2 separate regions of the Homo sapiens genome follow, and region 2 is linked to region 1. The links are contacts of gene promoters, found by promoter capture Hi-C in blood cells and fetal thymus (Javierre and others, 2016). All regions are on one chromosome and are shown on one strand. Each heading gives the region's core, a stretch centred on a gene start or on the middle of the fragment in contact. The rest is flanking DNA. Distances are from core to core; before and after follow the strand shown. Region 1 holds the start of LCE1F (late cornified envelope 1F). Region 2 has its middle 7.1 kb from the start of LCE1A.

Region 1 (4,871 bases), core at 1,743-4,242:
TGTGTGTCTGTAATTTATGACTCCATTTGTATAGGCAATGGCAAGAACAGAAACTCTTTGAGGTCCATTTGCAGAAGTGAGCTTAAAGGTTTATTTGTACTAGAGCAGTCTGCATTTTTAAAGTATAAGCTACATGGAGTCATTTTGCTATGTTTGCTGAAGGAGGGGCATGGTAAAATTCTTTGGGAGAATAGATGGGGAGAGAGTGAGGGTATCAGGAAGAAGGAGGGTGACAGCTGAGTAGGATAATGTCTGTCTTCCTTAATAACCAGGGTTATTAAGTCACCATCGCTCCACTTTGGTCCTCCCTTCCACATCTGGCCTTATGATGGAGGGTTGGGACTGCCAATCTCATTTCTCTTTGCTGGAGGTTTCCTGAAGTCTCCGCCAGTAGGCGGAGCTAGAGAGAACTTGGGAGACTGGCAGAGTGACAAGGACCAGGCTTCCTTAGATTCCCTTAGAATTCTCCAAGTCACCCCAATATTACTTCTCACCCCAGCAGGAGCAATTTATCCCTTTAGCAACAGTGGTTCCAGTGTGCAGTTTTTCCCGCTCACAAAACCAACCTTGTTGGGTTCTCATGGAGACAGACCCTAGGGCCAGCACCAGCTTGTGCCCCTCCTCAGAAGCCTGAGTCCAGACACACAGGGCCCCTCCTCTGAGCTCAGGGACCCCGGCACCCATGAGAAGGGCCCCTTTCCTAGAGGCCTGAGTTTCAATTCGTGGGCCACTGCTCCAAGTTTCTAAGTTTTGATAGTTTCAAGACACTCCCTTTACCTGCCATTGGTAGCATGGTGGCAATGACAGTTACCGCCTCCATGAACTCTTTTTGTCCTCTATTGGTCTTGTCAGTTCTCTGATGCCAAGTAAGCAAATTTTTATGTAAACTTCTGTCTATTAAAGTACATCTCATAATTCTCTTTCCTGACTTGACCCTGGCTGAGGCACTGAGGGGCGAGGGTCAGCTCTGGTGAGGACCAGGAGTTGAAGGAGTTAAGCAAGCCATGCTGCTTCAAGGCCCAGATAACCGGGTGATGGAGCTGAGATAAGACATGCTTATCCCTCTGTTCACATTTACAAGCAAGAGTAATGCAGTCTAGAAAAAGGTGATGAGCAGATTATTTGTTTTATTGTTTCATGCACAATGGAGATTGCCAAGGAAATCAGGGGAATGAGGCAAGGACTTCTATTTGGTATTCCCAGGCCAGGCGCACAGATGGAATCAGAGGTCAGAAGAGGAATTCTTGTGAGAGGGCAGATTTCTGGATTCTAGGTCGGAGGAATCTTCCAGGACAGAGTTTGAAATCTTTACTAAAATGTCCCAGCAACACAGTCAGTCCCAAGGAAGATGAAGTTGCCCCTTTCATGCCTCTAAATCTGCTCTTTTAGGCACAGGGTCCACTTCAGCAGCAGCCTCCAGAGTGCTGGCCACTGCCCCCTCCGCAGCAGCTGGAGCCCGCTGAGGGCTGGCTGCAGCAGTCAGAGCTCTGGGGTCTGTGGCGGTGGGACCTACGCCGTCTGTGGTGGCTCAGGCAACAGCCGCCTCCCCCAGAGCTGCAGCAGCCACCACCCCCAGAGCTGCAGCAGCCCCCAGAGCTGGAGCCACAGCAGCCTCCGGAGCTGACGCTGCAGCAGGAAGAGACAGGAGGGCACTTAGGGGGACACTTTGGGGGGCACTTCGGTGTGGGGCACTTGGGAGGGCACTTGGGAGTGCACTTGGGAGGGGGCTGGCACTGCTGCTGGCTCTGCTGGCAAGACATCTCGGTGGCGGGTGTTCAGGAGCTGAAGGAGGGTCAGACAGCAAGTTAGATGGAGGCAGAGGACACCCCTGCCTATTCTTGTCCTTTCTGCATTATTTCTAGATCCTTCATTTTGAAAGCCTTATATCAAACATAGGAAAATCACCTCTAATGTTTTTATCACTCTCAATGTTTACCAAGTGCTTTCATTCATGGATTCTCATTTCAAACCTTATTTGAGATGTTGTCATGCAATATATAATCTCCAAATATGTAAATAAAGTTTCTGCTCATTAAAAGCTCCTAAGTGTGGGAGAGAAGTCCAGGAAATAAATTGGCTCCGGGCCAGCATTCATTCTATCACATCACCAAGAATTCTGAAAATGTTCAATGTTGAGACCAGTTTAGAGATGAAAATCTCTTTAAGGAAAAATCAAAATAAATTTCTATTGGAAGAACTGATATATTTCAGTTTGCAGAAATAGAGAAAACTATAACCGCAAAGGATGTTGGAGTCAATTTGTTCCAACCAACTCAATATATAAATAAAGAAACTGAAGCCAAAAGAGGTAACTTCACTGGCCCAAAGTTATTCATTAACAGTCACATTTGTTCCGGGGTCCCCTGGTTCCCATCCTGGGCTCTGCCCTTTAGCACATCCTGCCTCCCCAGGCCTGTCCCCAGGCACTGTCACATGGCTTTTAAACTCCAGTGTGCACTCAGTTTTCCACTACAGATCTTCTTGTTGGCATCTAACAAGATCCACAGGTGTCTTTGATCCTTTCTTCCTCTAAGTAGCAGTGTTCTCAGCATATCTTTTCTAAAAGTGAGTATGTCTGTATTTCCAAAATTATATTCCCACTATGCAGCCCACTCTAGCAACATCCAGTGGCCAATGTGTTTATTCTCTAAAACCAGAGAAACACACTGAGCAACTGAAAACAATTTGGTTCCTCTAAATCTGTGTCATACAGCCCTTCAGATCTTACCAGTTCTTCTTAATCTCTCTCACTCCACCCCACCCCTCTACCTCCTCTTTCCAATTTTCTGCCCCCACCCCATTCCTTGCCAATCACAATTCCAGGCCCCTGAGGCCCTGCCTAGACTCTACTCCTGCCCTGGTCTGAGTATCCATCCCCTCCTTCCCTGGCCTGGGCATCCCTCTGTGGAAGCCCCTGCTCCTTTTTCCAGGGCACACTTACCAGGATCACAGGCAGCACAGGGTTCTTCAGCACCGCAGGAGGTGAGTGGATGGGATGCTCTGGCCCTGAGCCCTTTTATTCTGTCCTTGGGTGCTGCCTCCAGCGGTGAGACAGAGCCTGGGCATGAGAGGACCTGCCTCCCGACACCCACATAGGTCTTGTGACGAGTGGTGACTGGCAGTTCTGCATATACCGTCCTTCATTGGTGTTCAGGGGAGCTGCTGTCAGCTAGGAAAGAGCTTGGTGGAAATGGGGGCTTGTGGTGGGTGAAAATGGACATCATGGTTCCTGGAGTCCTCCGTGGCCTATTTCCTATGAAGATGGCTCTCTTCACAGTCTTGTAGTCACACTTATGAATTCTGCACAAACAACTCATTTTTCCTTCTATTCTAGATACTAATTTTCCATCTAGACCTTTGGGTCCATATAGCTTGGTTAAAAATCCACATGCCTGCATTATGGGGTTTGTCCATGTGCACATGGGCATGTGTGTGCATCATAGAAGTCGAGAAAAGAGGCCTTGGAGACCCTGGCAAAGTATTCAATATTTTTGGCCATTGGCTTTCTGATGTTTTAAATGAAGATAATAAGAGAAATATCTTTTCTGCAGGATTTACAAATTAATTAAGATAACAAAGGGGAAGTAGCTGAGATAGTATGTGGCATGTGGTTATAATTAGGAAATGGATGAATAGGTAGATAGATAGATAGATAGATAGATAGATAGATAGATAGAAAGAAAAATAGAGGCAAACCTGAGATTTTAATGGACATTGGGAATTTTTAAAGTCACAGGTGCCTTTTAAGTTAGGTGGCTCTTATTAAAACTAAAGGCCATTTTTTTTTCCTCCTACGTACCTCAGTGAATAGGGCTTTCTGAAGGTAGATCCAGAGTGGGTATAAGAAAAGAGGACTAAAGGATGTATATTGCCCCAAATTATAGCATAAAAGAATTTGCAGTTTCCTGAGGAAAAGCTGAAGGGATGAGGTAAAATAAAGATGAGAAGGGTGAAGAGAAGAGAACAGCCAATGAGGTGGCTTTGAACTGTGACTTGGAGTGGTGTAGTTGGTATAGACAAGAATAGACATAGTCAATATTTAATTTGAAATTATTGGCTTTGTTGCAATACACATTTCCTGGGTTTAATTTCCCAGTTTCCCATGCTCAAAACTAACCAAATGCAAAATCTAACAATAAAAAACCAATATTTGAAAAATAAATATGGTCAAAATTACATATAACATCAAAGAATTATTGGATGGTTTTAGCAGATTATAAGTTGCAGAAGAACAGATCGGTGAACTTGAAGAAATTGTTCAAACTGAACTGAAGAAAGGGAAAAATATTAAAAAAATGAACAGATGATCAGTGACCAGTGGAATAATATCAAACATTCTAGCACCCATGTATTTAGAGTTTCAGGAAGAGAACTACAAACCACTGCCCAAGGAAATAAAAGAGGATACAAACAAATGGAAGAACATTCCATGCTCATGGGTAGGAAGAATCAATATCGTGAAAATGGCCATACTGCCCAAGGTAATTTATAGATTCAACGCCATCCCCATCAAGCTACCAATGACTTTCTTCACAGAATTGGAGAAAACTACTTTAAAGTTCATATGGAACCAAAAAAGAGCCCTCATTGCCAAGTCAATCCTAAGCCAAAAGAACAAAGCTGGAGGCATCACGCTACCTGACTTCAAACTATACTACAAGGCTACAGCAACCAAAACAGCATGGTACTGGTACCAAAACAGAGATATAGAACAATGGAACAGAACAGAACCCTCAGAAATAATGCTGCATATCTACAACTATCTGATCTTTGACAAACCTGACAAAAACAAGAAATGGGGAAAGGATTCTCTATTTAATAAATGGTGCTGGGAAAACTGGCTAGCCATATGTAGAAAGCTGAAACTGGAT
Region 2 (5,063 bases), core at 1,190-3,689, 45 kb before region 1:
CCAGAAAACATCACAAAAGATGAAAATACAGATTATGAAAAGATATTTGCAACACATATAATTGACAACAAATTAGTATCTAAATAAATAACCCTACAAATCAGTGAGAAGAAAGCAATGACCCAAAGGAAAAATGAGAAAAACACATGAAAATTGATTTCCAGAAGTGAAAACCTGAATAACCAATAACCAATATGTTTTTGAAAAAGCTTTTCAACCTTGCTAGGAATCAGAGAAAAGCAAGAAAAAACCATGATGGTATATAATTTCACATCTATCACCTTGGTAAGAGTGAAAAATTCTCACTATTTATTCTTCTCATTGATGTTGAATAACAGAAATTTTCATGTACTCTGATGGGAATGTACATTAGTACAACTTTTGAAGAGTAATTTGGCAATATTTAGTCAGGATGAAGGCAGATATACTGAATAACATGCTGATTCTTCTCATAAGTGTATGCCTTGGATGCAAAGGTTCCAAAGTATGTGTAAGAATGTTAAAAAGTAGCACTTTTTATAAAGTACAAAGTGAAAACAAGGTAAGTACCCAATTTCAGATGAATGCATAAGTAAAGTATGAATATTCTTACACTGGAATGCTATACAATAGTGAGAATAAATGAAAATGAAATTGAGTCATCTGTATCAACATAGATAAATGTCTCAAAGTCATGGAGTAGATCACTTTTAGAAAATTAAAAATACAAATTATAACTAATATAGAAATAAGTTATAAATAAAATATAGCTAAGTACAAATAAAGTATAGTTAAGTACAGAGGAATTGTTACATTTTTAACTTATAAATAAATTATAAGTTAAGGATAGATAAGCACAGGAAAGTATATGCATTGCACAGGAAGGAAAAACACAAAATACAGAATAATGAATATCTCTAGGTAGAAGGGATATATAAGGGGATGGTTTCAATCATATTTATGATTATTTATTTCTCAATATGAGTGGAAAATACATGCATGCAGTGTTTACCAGGAAATCCTTTTAAGTTTGTATCTGTGTAAAATATTTTATTTAAGAAATTTATACATATGTAAAATTTAACACATACTTATATAGTAAGGTATTACTCTATTATATTTCATATATATTAAAATATTTCAAAAAATTATTTTACTTAATTTTGTTTTCCTCTTCTCTAGCAAAATATTTAATTTAATATGCATGTATTTGTGCTTATTTTTCTTTATAATTTCTTTAATTGTTTTTATATTGAGAATGTTTTTCTCAATCCTGGGAGAAGATAAACATTTAGCTACAAGTACTTCTTTCTTTATAATTCGATTTCCTCAAAATATTTAATCCCATGGATTTTGTCTTGGCATCTAATACTAAATGAGGGTTTACGTTTTTTTTTCAGTTATCAAAATTCCCTAACTCCAGGTATTGAATAGCCATCTTTTCCCCATTGATAACCATCACCTGCATCATCATATTTTAATTCTTTGTGTATATATACATATATATAGAGAGAGATTTAATAGTATATATATGTATACATACATATGTGTATACATAGATACGTATATGTGTATATATACATACATATATGTGTGTGTGTATATATGTGTATATATATATATATATATATATACTATTACATTCTTTTTTTTTTTTTTAAATTTGCACCAGTCTCAAGGTTTGGGGTTTAATTATGTGAAAGTTACAGATAAGTATTTTATCAGAATGGGACTTGTGGTGGATAAGAAAAATCCTCTAGATTTCCGGCAAACAAAAGGAAGAAAGAGAATTTCCTAGGACTAGAAGCTTAGGATCCTGCCCTCTTTGTCCTTTCCCTGGGAGGAGCCTGCAGGTGAGTCCCTGATATGGGGGATATACAGAATGAGGACCCGACTCTTCCCTCAGGAAACATGGAGGAAATGAAACCAGTTTTGTCATCTAAGCAAAGATGAGTTTCTAGTTCCTCTGCAAGCATGGGTCAAATGATGCATGAGTGCTTTCTATGACCAGATGTTGATCACATTGTCAAGACCAACTGTTCTTAGCCATTTATCCACTGTCTAAGAGAAGATTCTGGAACCAAGGCTGAACTTCAAGAAATTCACCCTGGAGAGGCATCACTCACATCACAGATAGAGGGGAGACACTAAAATGCCCAAGAGTGGAGGAGTCAGAAATTGGATTCTGCTTCCTGGTTGCTCCAGTATCAGAAGGATATTGCGCCTACATGTCAGACTGAGCCTTTTCTTTGTTCTCCATTCAGAAAATACATTTAGAAAGCTGGAGAAGGACAGACATTAGGTGGGGAATGAGTAGAAGGACCAGGCTCCCTTTCTCTGGTATGGTGGGCCAGCCCACTGGAGCAGGGATATGGGCAAATATGCCATTCAGTCAAATTTGGGGCCGGGGAGAGTGGCTTGTGCCTGTAATCCCAGCACTTTGGCAGACCGAGGCAGGCAGACCTCTTGAGGCCAGGAGTTCGAGACCACCCTGGACAACAGGCAAAATCCTGTCTCTAAAAAAAAAAAAAAAATACAAAAATCAGCCTGGCATGGTGGTGTGCATCTGTAGTCCCAGTTACTCAGTAGGCTGAGGTGAGAGGATCACTTGAGCCTAGGAGGTTGAGGCTGCAGCGAGCCATGATTGCACCACTGCACTCCAGCCTGCACAACAAAGTGAGACTCTGTCTCAAAAAAAAAAAAAAAAAATCAATCAACCAACCAGTCAAATTTGGCGTTGATATTGTTTTTCTGACTGGATATTTCATTACTGAACTGAAACCAAGTTTGTAATTTTTTTGTTTTAGAAATGGGGTCTTGCTTTGTTGCCGCACCTGGTCTCAAACTCCTAGGTTCAAGTGATCCTCTCTCTCGGGCCTCCCGAAGTGCTGAGATTATAGGCAGGAGCCACTGCACTGGGCCCACGTTTGTGATTTCAAGTAACAAATCATTTTGCATTACTTTGAAAGAGCTGTAAAGTCAGTTGGCCTTTCAACTTGTCATTTAGGAAGGAAAACCATCCCACTGAGTAAAATTTTAAGGACAATTTTACTTTTAAAATTTTTAAATTTTTAAAAAGCTATAATTTTATTACATCCTCCAAGCTAAGCTTGCTCAATGTGAGGGTTGTAGACAGATTTTTTAACATCCACCAGCTTAAGAAAACACACAATCGGATAAGATTTCATAGAAGGATGACATTTGAGGTGAACCTTAAAAGAGGGACAGAATTACACAATGTCCAGATGGTGGGGAGAGATTTGGAGGAACTTCAGATAGAGGAAATAGCAAGTAATGCTGCTAATAGTAATAGTAAGTAATGATTACAGTAGTTAGTAGTGATACTAAGGGTAGCAGTAGTAGTAGTGGCAACACTTATAAAATATCAAGAGAAGCTACTCTTTATTGAAGACTTATAGTATTCTAGATACAGAGCTATGAATAGTAAATTCTACTTACAGCTTCTCAGAAAAAAAAGGATGAATATATACAAGTGTAAGTTATGAGTTGCTCAGTGCGGCAAGAACATGGGGTGTCATGGGAAGTATGAATGGTAAACCTTAGAAAAGAAGTTGGAAACAATTCCTGCTGAGTCTCAAATGTAATACTTAAGAAGCACATGCATTTTTCTATAGAAAGCCTCTGTTTTGAGGAAGTAGAGTGACAATTTCAGACATGTGGTATAGGGAATGTGTTCTGGAAAAAAGTGCAGAGAATTTAATGGAGATGGAAGAGGAAGAAAGAGACATTTAATGGAAGGTTAATACAAGTGCAATTTTTACACAAAGATATGCCTCGAACTAAACTGATTTCAGAAGTAGTTAGTGGGAAAACTGTATTTTCAAAATATATTTCTGTTTTTTGCTTTCTATTTTATTAATCTATTTTTCTTTTCTTTTTTCTTCCATATGCATGCATCCATGTGTGCATGCGTGCGTGTGCACCTGTACTTGTGTGGAAGTGTGTGTATTTGCATGTGATGTGTGTGTATGTGCATACATGTGTGAGGGAGGAAGGATGTTGGGTGGAGCTAGGTGAGGAGGAGAAGGTGGCGCTCACAGAGGGAGAGGAGCATGGAGAGACCAGTCAGGGCCTTGAAGGGGACCAGAGGCAAAGAAGCTGTGTTTACAAAAGACATTTCAGACTTGGTCACAAGCAATGCTGCTTCAGGCCAATTGACATAGGACAAACAGCGTTGGAAGTCCCTTCCCACTCCTGCCCTCATTGACCCCAATTCAAGCCAGTGTGTCCCACTGGCCCCTGAAGTTCCAAGGCCACCACCTGCAGAGGACAGGGTGAGGAGAACAATAGCTACTCAAGGAGAATAGGGGAAGGGGTATGTGCAGAGAGCTCTTTAAATGAGCAAAAAATGTAAGATATTTGTGTTCCATATGAATGTTTACTAAACAATAACCTTAGCAGAGACTTTAATAAATAAGTGGATAGGATAACCTATTCTGTGGATACCAGTCAGACTCTTTGCCCAGCCTCTCCTGTCATTTCCCAATGAGCTCATGAACAAAGTGGCCATGGTGGCAGGTAAGACAGTGAAGTTGTATTGCTGCCCTTGCCAGCTGAAAACAACCTGATTCTGGTAGTCATTACTAATAGGTAAGAAGAAAAAAAATCCAGATCAATAGCTGCATAATAGGGGATATGCTAATTTGCTCAAGGAAATACCACATCTAGTACATCTGTAAATGGAGTCACCCCCTGGCTAGGCTTGTAATAATTCAGTGTATTAGTCTGCTCGAGCTGTCATAACAAAATACTATAAATTAGGTGGCTTAAATAATAGAAATTTATTTCTAGTAGTTCTGGAGGTTGGGAAGCCACCAAGGTCAAGGTGCCAGTCGATTTGTTTTCTGATGAGAGCTCCTTTTCTGGCTTACAGATGGCTACCTTCTCATATCTACAACTATCTGATCTTTGACAATCCTGACAAAATAAGAAATGGGGAAAGGATTCCCTATTTAATAAATGGTGCTGGGAAAACTGGCTAGCCATATGCGGAAAGCTGAAACTGGATCCCTTGCTTACACCTTATACAAAAATTAATTCAAGGTGGATTAAAGACTTAAATG

Evidence for each region. The method cuts DNA at HindIII sites, captures the fragments that hold promoters and counts their contacts. A CHiCAGO score of 5 or more calls a contact.
Region 2: a contact is called between a fragment that was not itself captured here and the fragment with the promoter of LCE1F in region 1, in 9 of 17 cell types (naive CD4 T cells, M2 macrophages, total CD4 T cells and 6 more). The highest score is 7.5, in naive CD4 T cells.

Annotation. Positions count from the first base shown.
Region 1 is chr1:152,773,261-152,778,131 of GRCh38, reverse strand. It overlaps LCE1F (late cornified envelope 1F), which reads right to left and starts at 2,992. Exons shown (of 2, transcript NM_178354.3): 1 at 2,942-2,992; 2 at 1,108-1,782. The coding sequence starts at 1,760. The coding sequence ends at 1,404. The HindIII fragment of the contact is 9,364 bases long and covers 1-4,871 here.
Region 2 is chr1:152,817,890-152,822,952 of GRCh38, reverse strand. No RefSeq gene overlaps it. Among named protein-coding and RNA genes, the nearest start is that of LCE1A, 7.1 kb to the left of the region's middle. The HindIII fragment of the contact is 1,302 bases long and covers 1,789-3,090 here.